3 separate regions of the Homo sapiens genome follow, and regions 1 and 3 are each linked to region 2. The links are contacts of gene promoters, found by promoter capture Hi-C in human tissues and cell types (Jung and others, 2019). All regions are on one chromosome and are shown on one strand. The core of a region is centred on a gene start or on the middle of the fragment in contact, and the rest is flanking DNA. Distances in the headings are between cores, read along the strand shown. Region 1 has its middle 11 kb from the start of NTPCR. Region 2 holds the start of MAP10 (microtubule associated protein 10). Region 3 has its middle 27 kb from the start of SIPA1L2.

What was found. The method cuts DNA at HindIII sites, captures the fragments that hold promoters and counts their contacts. A contact is called where the count stands out against the background at its distance.
Region 1: a fragment that was not itself captured here is called in contact with the fragment with the promoter of MAP10 in region 2 in 1 of the 25 tissues and cell types used here (heart left ventricle).
Region 3: a fragment that was not itself captured here is called in contact with the fragment with the promoter of MAP10 in region 2 in 1 of the 25 tissues and cell types used here (small bowel).

What each region holds. Positions count from the first base shown.
Region 1 is chr1:232,937,661-232,942,013 of GRCh38, forward strand. No RefSeq gene overlaps it. Among named protein-coding and RNA genes, the nearest start is that of NTPCR, 11 kb to the right of the region's middle. The HindIII fragment of the contact is 4,223 bases long and covers 972-4,353 here.
Region 2 is chr1:232,802,715-232,807,337 of GRCh38, forward strand. It overlaps MAP10 (microtubule associated protein 10), which reads left to right and starts at 2,702. Exons shown (of 1, transcript NM_019090.3): 1 at 2,702-4,623. The coding sequence starts at 2,736. RefSeq lists enhancers at 2,497-3,094, 2,806-2,885, 3,095-3,691. The HindIII fragment of the contact is 7,984 bases long and covers 1-4,623 here.
Region 3 is chr1:232,654,927-232,659,143 of GRCh38, forward strand. No RefSeq gene overlaps it. Among named protein-coding and RNA genes, the nearest start is that of SIPA1L2, 27 kb to the left of the region's middle. The HindIII fragment of the contact is 3,190 bases long and covers 862-4,051 here.

The DNA.
Region 1 (4,353 bases), core at 1,833-4,332, 140 kb after region 2:
TATACACTTGTAATTACATTGCACATGTAATATCCTATGCTGTTTCGTGTACTCCACATTATTTCATAAGCATCTTTCCATCCTATCAGTTAGACTTTTTTTCTGATTGCCAAGGACTCTAACGATACTGAGACTTTATAATTTCATATGCCCCGAGGCAGGGCTGGCTTTGGGTGAGAGTAATTCGGTGGCTCAAACAATTACAAGGAACTTGGCTCCCTTTGTCTCTCTGCTCTGGCTGGACATGTGCTATCTGGCACAGAAAGAGGCAAACTCTGTCTCCTATTCATAAGGTGGGCAATTCCCCAAACATAGGAAAGAGTTTAGATGCTTGGCGGCTAAAATGAATGTTAAATTTGTACTATGATATTTCATAAGACTATTGTGAAATGTTGAATGAGACAATATGTGTACATGCTCAGCACAGTGTGTGGCATGTAGGAAGTGAGCCTGATAAACTTTCAGTTTTTTGATAATGATGATAAGAGAAGGAGAAGCTGCTACTTGAGGATGATGAAACTCTACAAGCCTCACTTGTATCTCGACACATCAGGGAGAGGCAACAAGCACTTAGGCTCACCAGCAGGTCACTGGGTCAATTTAGAAGGAATACAGGAACAGAGGGAGAAGCTAAACAATGCCGTGGTGATATAAACACCAAAAACTGTGTGTTCGTATCTGCTGTGAAAACCGTACAGGACAAACCACTGGTTTCTTTAACAAAGAAACTAAGGAAAAAAGATCAGATGAAGGAGGTCTTTTATATTAACGGGATACAAAATGCATCACCAACTTGCAATGTATGAACCTTAAGCAGATCTAACTCAGTGCACAAGGGTCCTAATTGCTCCGTATCCTCATCAACACTTGTTATTTTCTGGGTTTTGTTTGTTTGTTTTGATAGTAGCCACCCTAGTGGGTGTGAGGTATCCATAGTGTTGATTTTTATACAGATTTTACTTGTATCATTAACTAATTGTGTTATGTGCATTGATGTGTTTTTAAAATTAGATTATAAGTATTTTTAGGGCAAAGACCCTGTTGTATACGTCTTTTATTACCCAAAAATGCCTAATAAGCACTCTGTACTTACTAGAGGTGATCGGTATGATTGTTGACACTGCAATTCTATCTGTTCAGAGTGCTAGTGTGTGCAGTAGACTGCTACTATACGTTTGTAATTTTTTCCCCCAAAGACCTTTAACACAAAGGAGGAGTTCAAAAATGTTCCACTGAAAAATGAACTACGGAGTTTAGAAATTCATTTAATTAGCAAGCATTAATTGAACATCTAGATACTGGGAATTGAGTAGTGAATAAACCTCATTTAGTTCCTCTCTCATGAAGGTTTTTTCATTTTAGCAGAAGTGGAAGTCATTAAATAAATTTAAACAACTCATCATTCAATTACAATCATAAGTGAAATGAACTAGAAGTTCAGGAGGCTACAGGACGCTTGGTGTGGAGGCAAAAGCAGCTCCATCTTGGATGTTCATCCATCCGCCATGTTGACTTCTGATTAACACTCATTCCAGGAATACCTCTAAGATTTCTACTTCCTGCCGGGCGCGGTGGCTCAAGCCTGTAATCCCAGCACTTTGGGAGGCGGAAGCGGGCGGATCACAAGGTCAGGAGATCGAGACCATCCCGGCTAACACGGTGAAACCCCGTCTCTACTAAAAATACAAAAAATTAGCCGGGCGTGGTGGCGGGTGCCTGTAGTCCCAGCTACTCGGGAGGCTGAGGCAGGAGAATGGTGTGAACCCGGGAGGCAGAGCTTGCAGTGAGCCGAGATCACGCCACTGCACTCCAGCCTGGGCGACAGAGCGAAACTCCGTCTCAAAAAAAAAAAAAAAAAAAGGTTTCTACTTCCACCTACTTACTGTGAATGCTGCTCTTAGGTCAAAACAACCTTGATGTTACTGTAAACACATATTTACCATAAATCCTGTCCTTAGGCAAATTCCTTATGCTATACAAGCCCTGGGTCTGGCAGTAACATGCAGGGATCCACCATCACATCTTGCAGCCACCTAAGACAAGGTTTCTGTTCCTAAGTCCCTAGTAAATGCTTCTTGATGGGAAACTGGATTTGTCAGCCTCTTTCTTTGGCTTCTCAGCTCCCTTGGCCTTTAGGGGTAGGTTTGCACAGACCTGTTCACTATGAAACACTTGGTGTGTTCTAGGGGGTCAGGAATGATAAATACATGTTAGCTAGGGGAAGATGATATGGGAGAGAGCCTTTAAAGTGGCAGAAACAGCATGTGCAAAGGCCCTGTGACAGAGAGGAGTGTGGTCCCCTTGGGCATATGAGAATAGTTTGCATCTCCCCCATATGGAGCAGGAGCTCTAGGAAAGTCAAAGATTGGCCTATTGCTCCCATACAACAATGCCATCACCTCTATTCTCGTGCACTAAGGTTGTATGGAGACATTCTTAGCACCTTGCTAGACTGCTTCCAAGCACGACACCCAGCAGCCAACTATCCTTAGATCTTCAAATGTAAGGGTTCGTGGGGCAGTGAACAGGGTGAGGCACCAGTTATCTTCTTTTCCCAGCAAAGCTTTATGCTACTCTTGCCTCAGCTTGGACTCTGCTTATGAAATAAGGTGAGGGGTCAGGAGGTTGGGATCTCACGATGGGACAGGTCATTAAATAAGTGACAGACACTTGATTTCTATCTATCTGTCCACACTGGGGTGATAGAAATGAAAAATCTAGAATCCCTGTTTCACTAGCAGTGAACCTGCCCTAAAATGCCACAAGTTATTTATTAGTTAGATGCAAATCAATGTTTCACATATCCACACCACAGGTTTTGAGCCCACACATGGTGTTAAGAGGGGATGATGAAATTCAACCCAGGAGAAGAGTCAGTGCACATTGCCCCCTCTGGGAAGACTGATGATATACAATAAAAGGAAAAAGAAATGATTCCTAAAGTTCTCCCTTAATTTTCAGTCACAAAGCCTTTATCCACTTGTTGGGCAGATGGAGCTGAAACCATTCCCTTAACCAGGAATATACGAGAGGGCAAGTGAGGCTGTGTGGGGTGCCAATGTTGCTGTGGGGATGCACACAGCTAATTAAAACCACAGCCCACTTTCCCCTCACAGCACTCTGCAAACAATGTTGGTGATGATGCAGTCTGACCAAGTTAAAAAGCAATTAGTTTCCCCTGCAGAGGATTTACAGGGCAAGACAATGCACCTTGAATAAATACCATTGAGTTTACACCTACATCTGAAGACGGATACTTCATGATGTAGCAGATTCGGCTTCAGCGCAAGGACAATGACAGGCTCCCTCCAAGGACCTGCAGCCTCACACCCAAAGTGACTTGGGGGTGAGATGGTGAGCCTGCTTAGCCCCCTCGATTACAGATTGACCCAGTATTCTTGAAGTTGGCTTGCGTATGAGGACATATGTGATAGTAATCATTATTCTAGAAAGTCCTGGGGAGAATGAGATTAAAATCAGGCAGAGAGGGTCCTCCATTATTTCTGTTCTCATAGCTATTATAAGAACTATTTTAGAACTCTTATCACACCATGATATAATTCGTTCTCCTAGAAGAAGGAAGAGCAACCAGTGGACCATGTCTGCAGTCCTTGTGTGACCCTTCTTGTTTTGTGATATTGCCCTCAATTAGTTTTCTGGACAAAAGTTAAAAAGCTGCAACCATGAACAGAAGTACAGTGTAGAGGATGAGAGAAAAGATTCTGGTGCTCAAATTCCTGGGTTTGAAGCAAATGTCAAACACATACACACACACACACGCATATAGTCATGTACTGCATAATGGCATTTTGGCCAATGACAGACTACATATACAAGGGTGATTGGGCATGGTGGCTCATGCCTGTAACCCCAGCACTTTGGGAGGCTGAGATGGGAGGATCTCTTGAGCCCAGGAGTTCAAGACCAGCCTAGGCAGCATGGTGAGACCCTGTCTCTAGTTTTTTTTTAAAAAAGATCACCATACTGTGTTTTTGGCATATCTTTTTGTATTTAAATATATTTAGATATACAAATACTTAACATTGTGCTATAATTGCCCATAGTATTCAGTACAGTAACATGCTGTGCAAGTTTGTAGCCCAGGAGCAATAGGCATAGCCTATATCCTGTACCCTGTGGCCTAGCAATAGGCTATACCCTATAGTCTATTACATCCATAGGTGTAATAGGCTATAACACCTAGGTTTGTACAAATAGACTCTACCATGTTTGCACAGCAACAAAATCACCAAAGGACACATTTTTCAGAATGTATCCCTGTTGCGAAGCAATGCTTTGTGACGGTGTATGTAAATGCTTGTGCATGGATGGATGGATGAGTGAATGGATACA
Region 2 (4,623 bases), core at 1,452-3,951:
ATTCACTTAACACACATAATATTTTTATGAGGTAGTTAGTGTAACTATATTTTTCAAATGAGGATAATGATTCACAGAGAGTTCAGAAACTAGTATAAGGTCACAGAACCAGGATTTGAGCCAGGTAGTTTGCTTCCAGAACCCAGGCGCTCAGCTACTGCACTGTGCTACTTCTCCATGTGTGGTGTAGAAACATGGGGAAAATATTTGTCATGGCAAAATTTTATTTGTTACTTTTGGCATTATTTACAAGTATAAAATATTATTCATACATTATAATACCAGTCATGTAGAGTAGCTGGGTAGAGAAGTTATTATCATTGCAGAAACTACATATTGCAGAAATAATGTCTTTATAGAAGAGGGACTTCGCTTTTTCTATTCATATGTAAGAGACATACAAGTGCTACTAGTGCACACTATTAACTTTACTCAAAAGGCTAACTACAGGATATCTTCTAAGAGGAATTTTGTCTACTGTATTTCTCTGGCGCACATGGACTCAATACCTCATTGCTTTTCACTTGTGATGATGTCTTTTTTTTATTGCTCTACATCATCTATCCATTGAGGATGTTGCTTGATATGTGTCCTCTGCAAGTATATAGCAAGATTCTCAAAGCCAAGAGAAGTATCTTGTAATTTTTTTTTTTTTTTTTAGATGGAGTCTCGCTTTGTCACCAGGCTGGAGTGCAGTGGTGCGATCTCGGCTCACTCACTGCAACCTCCAACTCCCTGGTTCAAGCGATTCTCCTGCCTCAGCCTCCCAAGTACCTGGGATTACAGGCATGCACCACCACACCCAGCTGATTTTTGTATTTTTAGTAGAGACGGGGTTTCATCATGTTGGCCAGGATGGCCTCGATCTCTTGACCTCGTGTTCTGCCTGCCTCGGCCTCCCAAAGTGCTGGGATTACAGGCGTGAGCCACCGCATCTGGTCCGAGAAGTATCTTGTATTTATATATTGCAATGAGACTTCTCTCTCACGTCTTCACACTAAAGCATCATATCCCTCCAGTTCTGAATTTCTCTTGAGCTTCACAATGTTCTTCTGAGCACTGAAGCAATATAATTTAACTATAATTTATAAAGCTGAATAAAGCGGTACATATATAATGCCCAGCAGCAGGTACCTCAAGCTTTACATATCTCAAAACTCAAAGTATTTTTTTCCGTCAAATCTGTGCCTCCTCAATATTTTCACCTTCAGTAGCAGAAGTTTTTCACCCATGACTTTTCTTTCCCATTCACCAAATTTTAAAATTCCTCCATCACAAATGCCTCTTCTGCCACCTCTTTTTAATTTCCACTAGTCCTGACCATGTGCAGGTCATAATTATCTGCCTCTTAGACCACTGCAGTAGTCTTCTAATAGATTGCTCTGAATCCAATTTCTAATTAGTAGAATCCATCCTTTGTATTCCTCCCCATGATACATTTCCAAATATTGCTATGATGTACTTATTCAATCAAAAAAATTTGGACAGAATATAGTCCAAATTCTTTACCATGGCATTCAAGGCTCTCCAAAAACTGGCCTTGGATTCCTAGCTGGCTAGCTCATTGAGGTTAGGAGTATGTTTCTTAAAATATCTGGATAGAGCAGCAAGTTCTGTGTGTCTCTGTAGATGTGTGTATATTTATGTACACACATTTGTTTTATTGATGGAATCATTAACATTACTCTCATGCATCATGATTGCTTAGCTGGAAATGTTGTCAAATAAAAAACAGGGCCAGACAGTAGTTGAAGTGGCAAAAACACTGTAGTCAGGAACTACTGCAATAAGAGAAAAGAGACCTCAATACAGAGCTGGGCTCAATTCCAATTACAGCATGGACAAGTGGGGATTTAAAGCCAAGGGGGCGTCAGGTCAAGTGGATGGAAACTTACTGATAGGGAACATCACGGGTGGGAGGGTTCTGATTAAGCAGGCCTAATAGGATTCTTGCTGAAGCCAGGCCAGGGTGGTCAGATACCAATGATAGAAAATGAAGAATTTGATCAGGTATCGACGGTAATCAGGTATGAAGGGTTGGGGGTTCTCTCTCAACAGCCGTAGCGAGACCTTTGCTACAACTCGGTGATCCAGGGTCCACAGGATTGGAAGCCAAGGTCAAGGCCTAGTCGGAAAGAAGGCTTAGATGAGCCTGACCAAAGTTCAGCCAAGGAGAGTTTTTGCCAGTGTATTCACACTCCGTGTGTGTGTGGTGTGTCTGTCTCAGTACTACTGTAATTGATGAGGCAGGGGCTCCCTGGCCATCCCAGCAGTGTCACCATCTTTTGGGTAGAACAGCAGACACAGAGATGGCCCACTGTGGACAGTTAACTAACTGGCTCTGTTTAGCATGGGAAAGGAAGGAGAGTCCTGATTTTCTTTCAATATTCCTCAGGTATATTGATCTGACCCCCAAGTTACATAAGATCTGCAGTGATAAAACCATTACCCAAAAAACTCACTGTCTTTTACCACTTATATCCTCAGCATTATCATCAATTGTCTTAATACAAGGTTGGTGGCAAAAAACGGCTCACAAGTATGCATACAAAGGGGCCAAACACATTGAGCAGCAAAACCCCCAAAGCAGACACCGCCCGAGACCCGCTGGAGCGCTTCCGCAAATCTCGCGAGATAGCAGGCAGCGATGCCTTTTGCTCCGGTTTCTCGTGAGACCCCGGGGCTTCAGCTTCTCGTTTGCGGAGCCCGCGGCGGCGTTTCCTGGGGCAACAGCAATGGCGGCCTCGCTGTCCGAGCGGCTCTTCTCGCTGGAGCTGCTGGTGGACTGGGTGCGTTTGGAAGCCCGGCTGCTGCCGTCCCCCGCTGCCGCAGTGGAGCAGGAGGAGGAAGAGGAGGAAAAGGAGCAGGGGGAGGCCTCGTCGCCGCGCGGTCTGTGCCCCGCCGTGGCCTTCCGCCTGCTGGACTTCCCCACGCTGTTGGTTTACCCTCCTGACGGCCCCGGCGCTCCCGCCGCCGAACCGTGGCCCGGTGTCATCCGCTTCGGTCGCGGCAAGTCCTGCCTCTTCCGCCTGCAGCCTGCTACCCTGCACTGCCGGCTCCTGCGGACCCCGCTTGCCACCTTGCTGCTGCAGCTGCCCCCTGGGCGCCCGACGCCCACCCCACAGCTCCTGGGGGCCTGCGACATTTCGCTGGCCACCGCAGCGCACAGGGTCGTGGGGCCGGCCGCCTCCGGATGCTCCCACCGTCACCGGGGACGTTTCCCCCTGCATAATCGAGTGGGCGAGCGGACTGGGGACATTGCACTGGCCTACCGCCTGACTGACCTGGGAAGCCGCCTGCTGAGCCAACTTGAGCGGCCCCTCACCTTCACCCGCACAGGAGGAGGAGCGGAGGTCAGTCCCCAAACCCAGCAGGAAAGACAGCAGCTGCAGCAGCCAGCCTCACAGCCAAGCCCAAAAGAGGCTGATAAGCCGCTGGGGGAGTTAGAAATCCCAGAGGCACAGAAGGATTTGAAGGAAATGGTTAAAAGTAAGGCCGAATGTGATAATGTGGGTTCTGTGGAGAATGGCAAAACCAATTCTGTTGTTACATGTTCAGGTGCTGGCAATGGGAGAAATGTTAGCTCCCTAAATGAGGAAGTCACAGAATTGGACATGGAGACCAATATATTTTGCCCTCCTCCTTTGTATTACACTAACTTGACCCAAGAAAAACCGCCCCCTGCACAGGCTAAAATCACCATTGAGCCTCAAATGAATGCACCTGAGGAAATGGATGATGCTTCTCCTGAAAAAAAGCGTGTAAATCCCCCAGCACACAGGAGTTGTCTAAAGCATCCAAGTTCTGCAGCACACGAACATCCTCCAATGCTTGTAAATCCTCCACATATTCAGAATATAGGAGCAACTAATCAAACATGTCAAACTGAACAAAATCGAATTAATACAATAAGGCAGTTGCCTTTGTTAAATGCTTTGTTAGTTGAGTTGTCCTTGTTATATGACCAACCTGTGACAAGTCCTGCTCATATACATCCTCACCTAGCCTGGTTATATAGGACTGAGGATAAGAAGTCACCCGAATCTTCTGCCAAATCCACATGCCGGTCTGAAGCCAAGAAGGATAAGCGTTCTGTGGGGGGATGTGAAAAGTCAGTGAGTCTTCAGTATAAAAAGAACCAAATTGAAAACTATAAGGAAGATAAATATTCTGAAAAGAGCAGTGGTGCCCTCCATAAAAGAGTTCCAAAAGGGAGGCTACTTTATGGCTTAACAAATACACTAAGACTACGTTTAAAGCTGACAAATCCTGATATGTTGGTGGTACATGAAAAAAGAGAACTATATAGAAAAAGACAATCACAAATGTTGGGTACAAAATTCAGAATTCCGTCATCCAAAGTTAAACTATTAAGCTCTGCAGAACAAAGTCAGAAGCCACAACTGCCTGAAGATAAGTATTTAGATTCAGATGCATCTTTCACTGAAAATAGTGATACCTCAAGACAAATCAGTGGAGTTTTTGATGAGCCCAGCACAAGTAAAGAAACTAAACTGAAATATGCAACTGAAAAAAAGACAGTTGATTGTAGTAAAAATAGAATCAATAATGTTTCATTGGAAGAAGTTGTGAGTCCTGCAAATTCCATTATTCCAGAAAGGC
Region 3 (4,217 bases), core at 1,207-3,706, 150 kb before region 2:
CTTTTAAAATGAGAATGTTCTTCTGATACTCACTGCAGTTCCCAGTAAAGAAACTGACACCCTGAGAAATGACACCATTTTCTCAAAGGCACATGGTTAGGCAAGGTCATGGAGTGGAGGCTTTTGACTCCCCTGGCAGTCTTTAACCTATACAATTTCTCTCCACCCCCAGCCCATCTGCTGATTCTGGGCATGGCATCTGTATTTGATCCAGCTTCTCAGAGCATATCAACTGTAAGCCAATTGGATGTAAATATAAAGAGAGCAGAAAACTCTTTTACCAGGCAGCTGGAAAGTTTCACTTGGAATTTATTTTTAGCATCTTGTGTGTGCTCAGGAGCAACCATGGCAACAAAGGCACCTGGAAGAGCCCCTTAGAGGGAAAAGAGATAGCACCAGAGGGACGCTGCCTCATCTCCATGGGTAATCGGTGACAGGCTGGACATGTCCCTGTCACTAGGAAAGCCATCACCAGAGAAGAATAATCTCAGAATCAGCAGGGCTCACCTCCACTTAGGGAATAAATGACTGATGAGATCATCTACGTGAACCTGTCTTCCCTCCCCTTCCTTACCTTCCTTTCCCAGCACTGATACAATGTGTAAATACAGCTTTAGTTTCTGTCCACTTTGAGGTCTGATCATATGTCATGTTTTATTTACTACGGTCCTTCATGAAACTTCGAAACCACATAGCCACAAGAGAGGAAATGAACCCTTCAAGACCTCAGGCTACCATGCTGTGAATGGCTTCAAAGGCATTCATTAGTCTTTATCATCTCAGCAAGGACAAAGTCAGAAGTTCAGCCTCTTTTCTCTCAAAGAACAGGTGAAAAGAAAGCTGAGGGCAGGATGGTGCAGGAGAGAACACACCAGCCAGAGAGAAGCCAGGGCTGCAAGAGACTCCGCAGTGTCTGGTGAAAACTGGAACTCAAACCAGCTTTATACATTTCTCCTTCCCCAGGTCAAACACTTACCAGGAGGAAGATGACATTAACTCGTGGTAAAGAGCCCGGGGCCAATTCAAGAAATTCTTCCATTTTTGAAATTCTCTGTCTAGTTCTCTGAATCCTGGCAGACTCCAAGAGTGATTTTTTTTTTTTTTTTTTTTGAGACAGGGTCTCATTCTGGTGCCGAGGCTGGAGTACAGTTGCTTGATCATGGCTCACTGCAGCCTTGACCTCCTGGACTCAGGTGATCCCCCCACCTCAGCCCCACAAGTAGCTGTGACTACAGGCATGAGCCACCACACCCAGATAATTTTTGTATTTTTTGTAGAGATGGGATTTCATCATGTTCCCCAGGCTGGTCTCCAACTCCTGGGTTCAAGTGATCTGCCTGCCTCAGCCTCCCAAAGTGCTGGGATTGCAGGTGTGAGCCACTGTGCCCAACCGCCATGAGTAATTTATCCATGTCACAGTTCCCATGCTTGAGACAAGACTCTCAGCTTTCTGACCTGCACATTCAAGACCCACCCCTATGTCATTTCTTCTCTTACATTTTGTAAAAATGCAGTTCTCTCCTTTTTGCTTTTTGGGAAAATATCCGCACTAAACATATCTAATGTTCACAGTTTATGAAAGGGTAGACCCAATGAAATAGATATACTTTAGCTTAGTCTTGGTCATTTAGCATTTCTCTGCCTAGGTGCTTTTTCACAAGGACTTCAGAAAATGTTGAATGTTTCTAGTTAAATTTGGTACATTTCCAAAGAATATAGATACACATTGCATTGAATTTGCGGTTCAATGTTATCTTGAAACGTGATAGTGACTGATAAAGTGTTTGCCACAAGCATGTCTTCTATAATTTTAAACACATTTCAATAAAATCCAAAGTTTCAGAATGATATCAGTACACCGAATTGGGCCCGTCTACAGTCCTCTTATTCAATCACATTCAAGACCTAGGACAGTGTTGTTCACAACGAGGTATTTAATAAATAATAAATAGAGCAGGAAAAGAAAACCATCATTATAGTCACATGGCTGGAAAGACCTCTATTGATCTTTACTTCCCCACAAAACCACATAAATATATAATGGTGTTATTGAACCAGCTTCCACCAAGCAAATGAACTATGGCATTTCTAAGAGATATCCATATTATTACGGAAAAACATCCTACAGATAAAATTAAAAGCAAGTCTTTTATTTGACCCCAAACTAGGAAAGACTGAGGGAAAGATAATCAATTTATGCTTATTTTCTGTTCCTAAAAAAAATTCTATGAAGCATTGTTGATGCTCAGAGTTGGGAGAAATGAAAAAAAAAATCAGTGATTCATTTTTCCCCCATAAACTTGCAGCCGCAATGTACAGATCCATATTATATTGGGATAAGTCAATCACCAATCTAAATTACTAGGTAACTACTATGTACTTACTAGAGACTAAGCCCAAATGCAGAATAAAGGATGGCCCAGGGAATAAATTCTTAGTGCAAAGAAGCTGCTGTAAACTTAGAAGCAGGAGCCCACTTCTAAGGGCTCCCCAGGATCACAGTGTTCGAAGGATCATCATTCACAGTAGCTACAGTCCAGGTGCAGATGAGGGCAAGCAGACATCGAGGCTCGCAGTACAATATACACATTCAGAAGAGGTTCTGTTTCAGGAGAAATGATGCAAGACATTGGTTCTAAACTCTCTTGGTTTCAAAAGAGGATCCTGTTCTTAATTTAGAATGTTTGTAATATATGCATTAGAAAGGAAAGCTTTGAATAGAAAATAAATTCCCCTCTGTATTGCTGATTGGGAAATGGCCACCATATAATCTCTCCAGGAATGTGATGAAATTGCACTTCCAGTTGTATTGCTTTCCCTGCCAAAAATGAAATCCTTCTTTTTAACTGATTTTTCCTCACAATAGATAACAGACAACTTTGAATTCTACATAAAAATAATTATGGAAACAATTTTAAAAGACCTATTGCAATATCTTCAGATCAATTCCAAGTGAACAAATCATGGTGACATTTGCTTGGCCATGTGACATGGAGGCAGTTGGTATCAGACTCAGCATCTTTATGCTACACAGTAAGACAAAATCTGAGCTCTTAAACTTTAGACATGAAGGAAAAAAACACACACACACACAGCAGCCCAAATTGAGAAGCTGAAGACAGCCTTCAGGAAGATATAGGTACTATGTATCTCACACCTAAATGTCCTCCATAAATAGATAATATGATTGATCCAGAAGTAGACTGTGCTGAAGAAAAGAAGAAGAAAATGAACTAGATAATTTTCCAAAGCCTCTCATCCACCAGCCCTTCCCCTAAACCTGAGGGCTGCACACTTGCTTATGCTATCTTGATCTCTGCCTTAGAGAAAGAAGCCTAGGGGGACAATTTCTCTTACGAAACACATCACAGTTCATCTCTTCTTTGCAAGGATTTATAACAAGAGAAAGAGACACATTTATTTTCTTGTAACTGTAGGCAGCAAGACATCATTGAAAATGCATGAGAATTGCAGTTGGTAAATCTGAGTTCAAGGTCAGAGGGGAAATTTCATCTCTCTGAGATTTGGCATACACATCTGTAACCAGGGACTAATAATTCCTACACAGTGGAGATATCTTGAGAATTAAAGGTCCTAAGGCCTATGAAAATGGTATGCAAACGTTGATCTAGAAAGGACCAGGGAAAATCATCTTGACCACTCTAGCTCTCGGCAGGATCACATCTCAGTTTTCCTGGACTGAATTAAACAAGTTCAGAGAAGGAACTAAAATGGAAAGTGTTTGATAACATTCCAAAGGCACAATACATAAATTCTTATATTATAGCTTCAGTCCCTGTGGCTTTCTTTGCATCTCAGTGAAGATGGAAAATTTACCATATAATTAATGGCTTTTGTTTTCACGAAGCCTGTAGTATCACTTCTCAGCCATTTCTTTTAGAAACGGAATACTGCCAAAACTTTAACTGTTCCTTAAAACTGTGTTTGGAGGTATGCTGTACACTCTCTCCAATTACTCTAGCTCATTTTTTTCTGGGACTCAGAATTCTGTTAGTATGGATTCAGGTCCCGTTCTGATGCAGTACTTTATGGTTCCTACTTGGGATGCACTCAGCCTTTTTATCCTACTGATAGGACATCAGCTCCTTATCTACTGTAGCCCCTCAATCTTTTCCTGCCATTTATGTATATAGAATTGTTTTGTCTTGTATTTATGCATTTTCTCTGCCCTTGATGTACTTTTCTTAGTTCAAGTT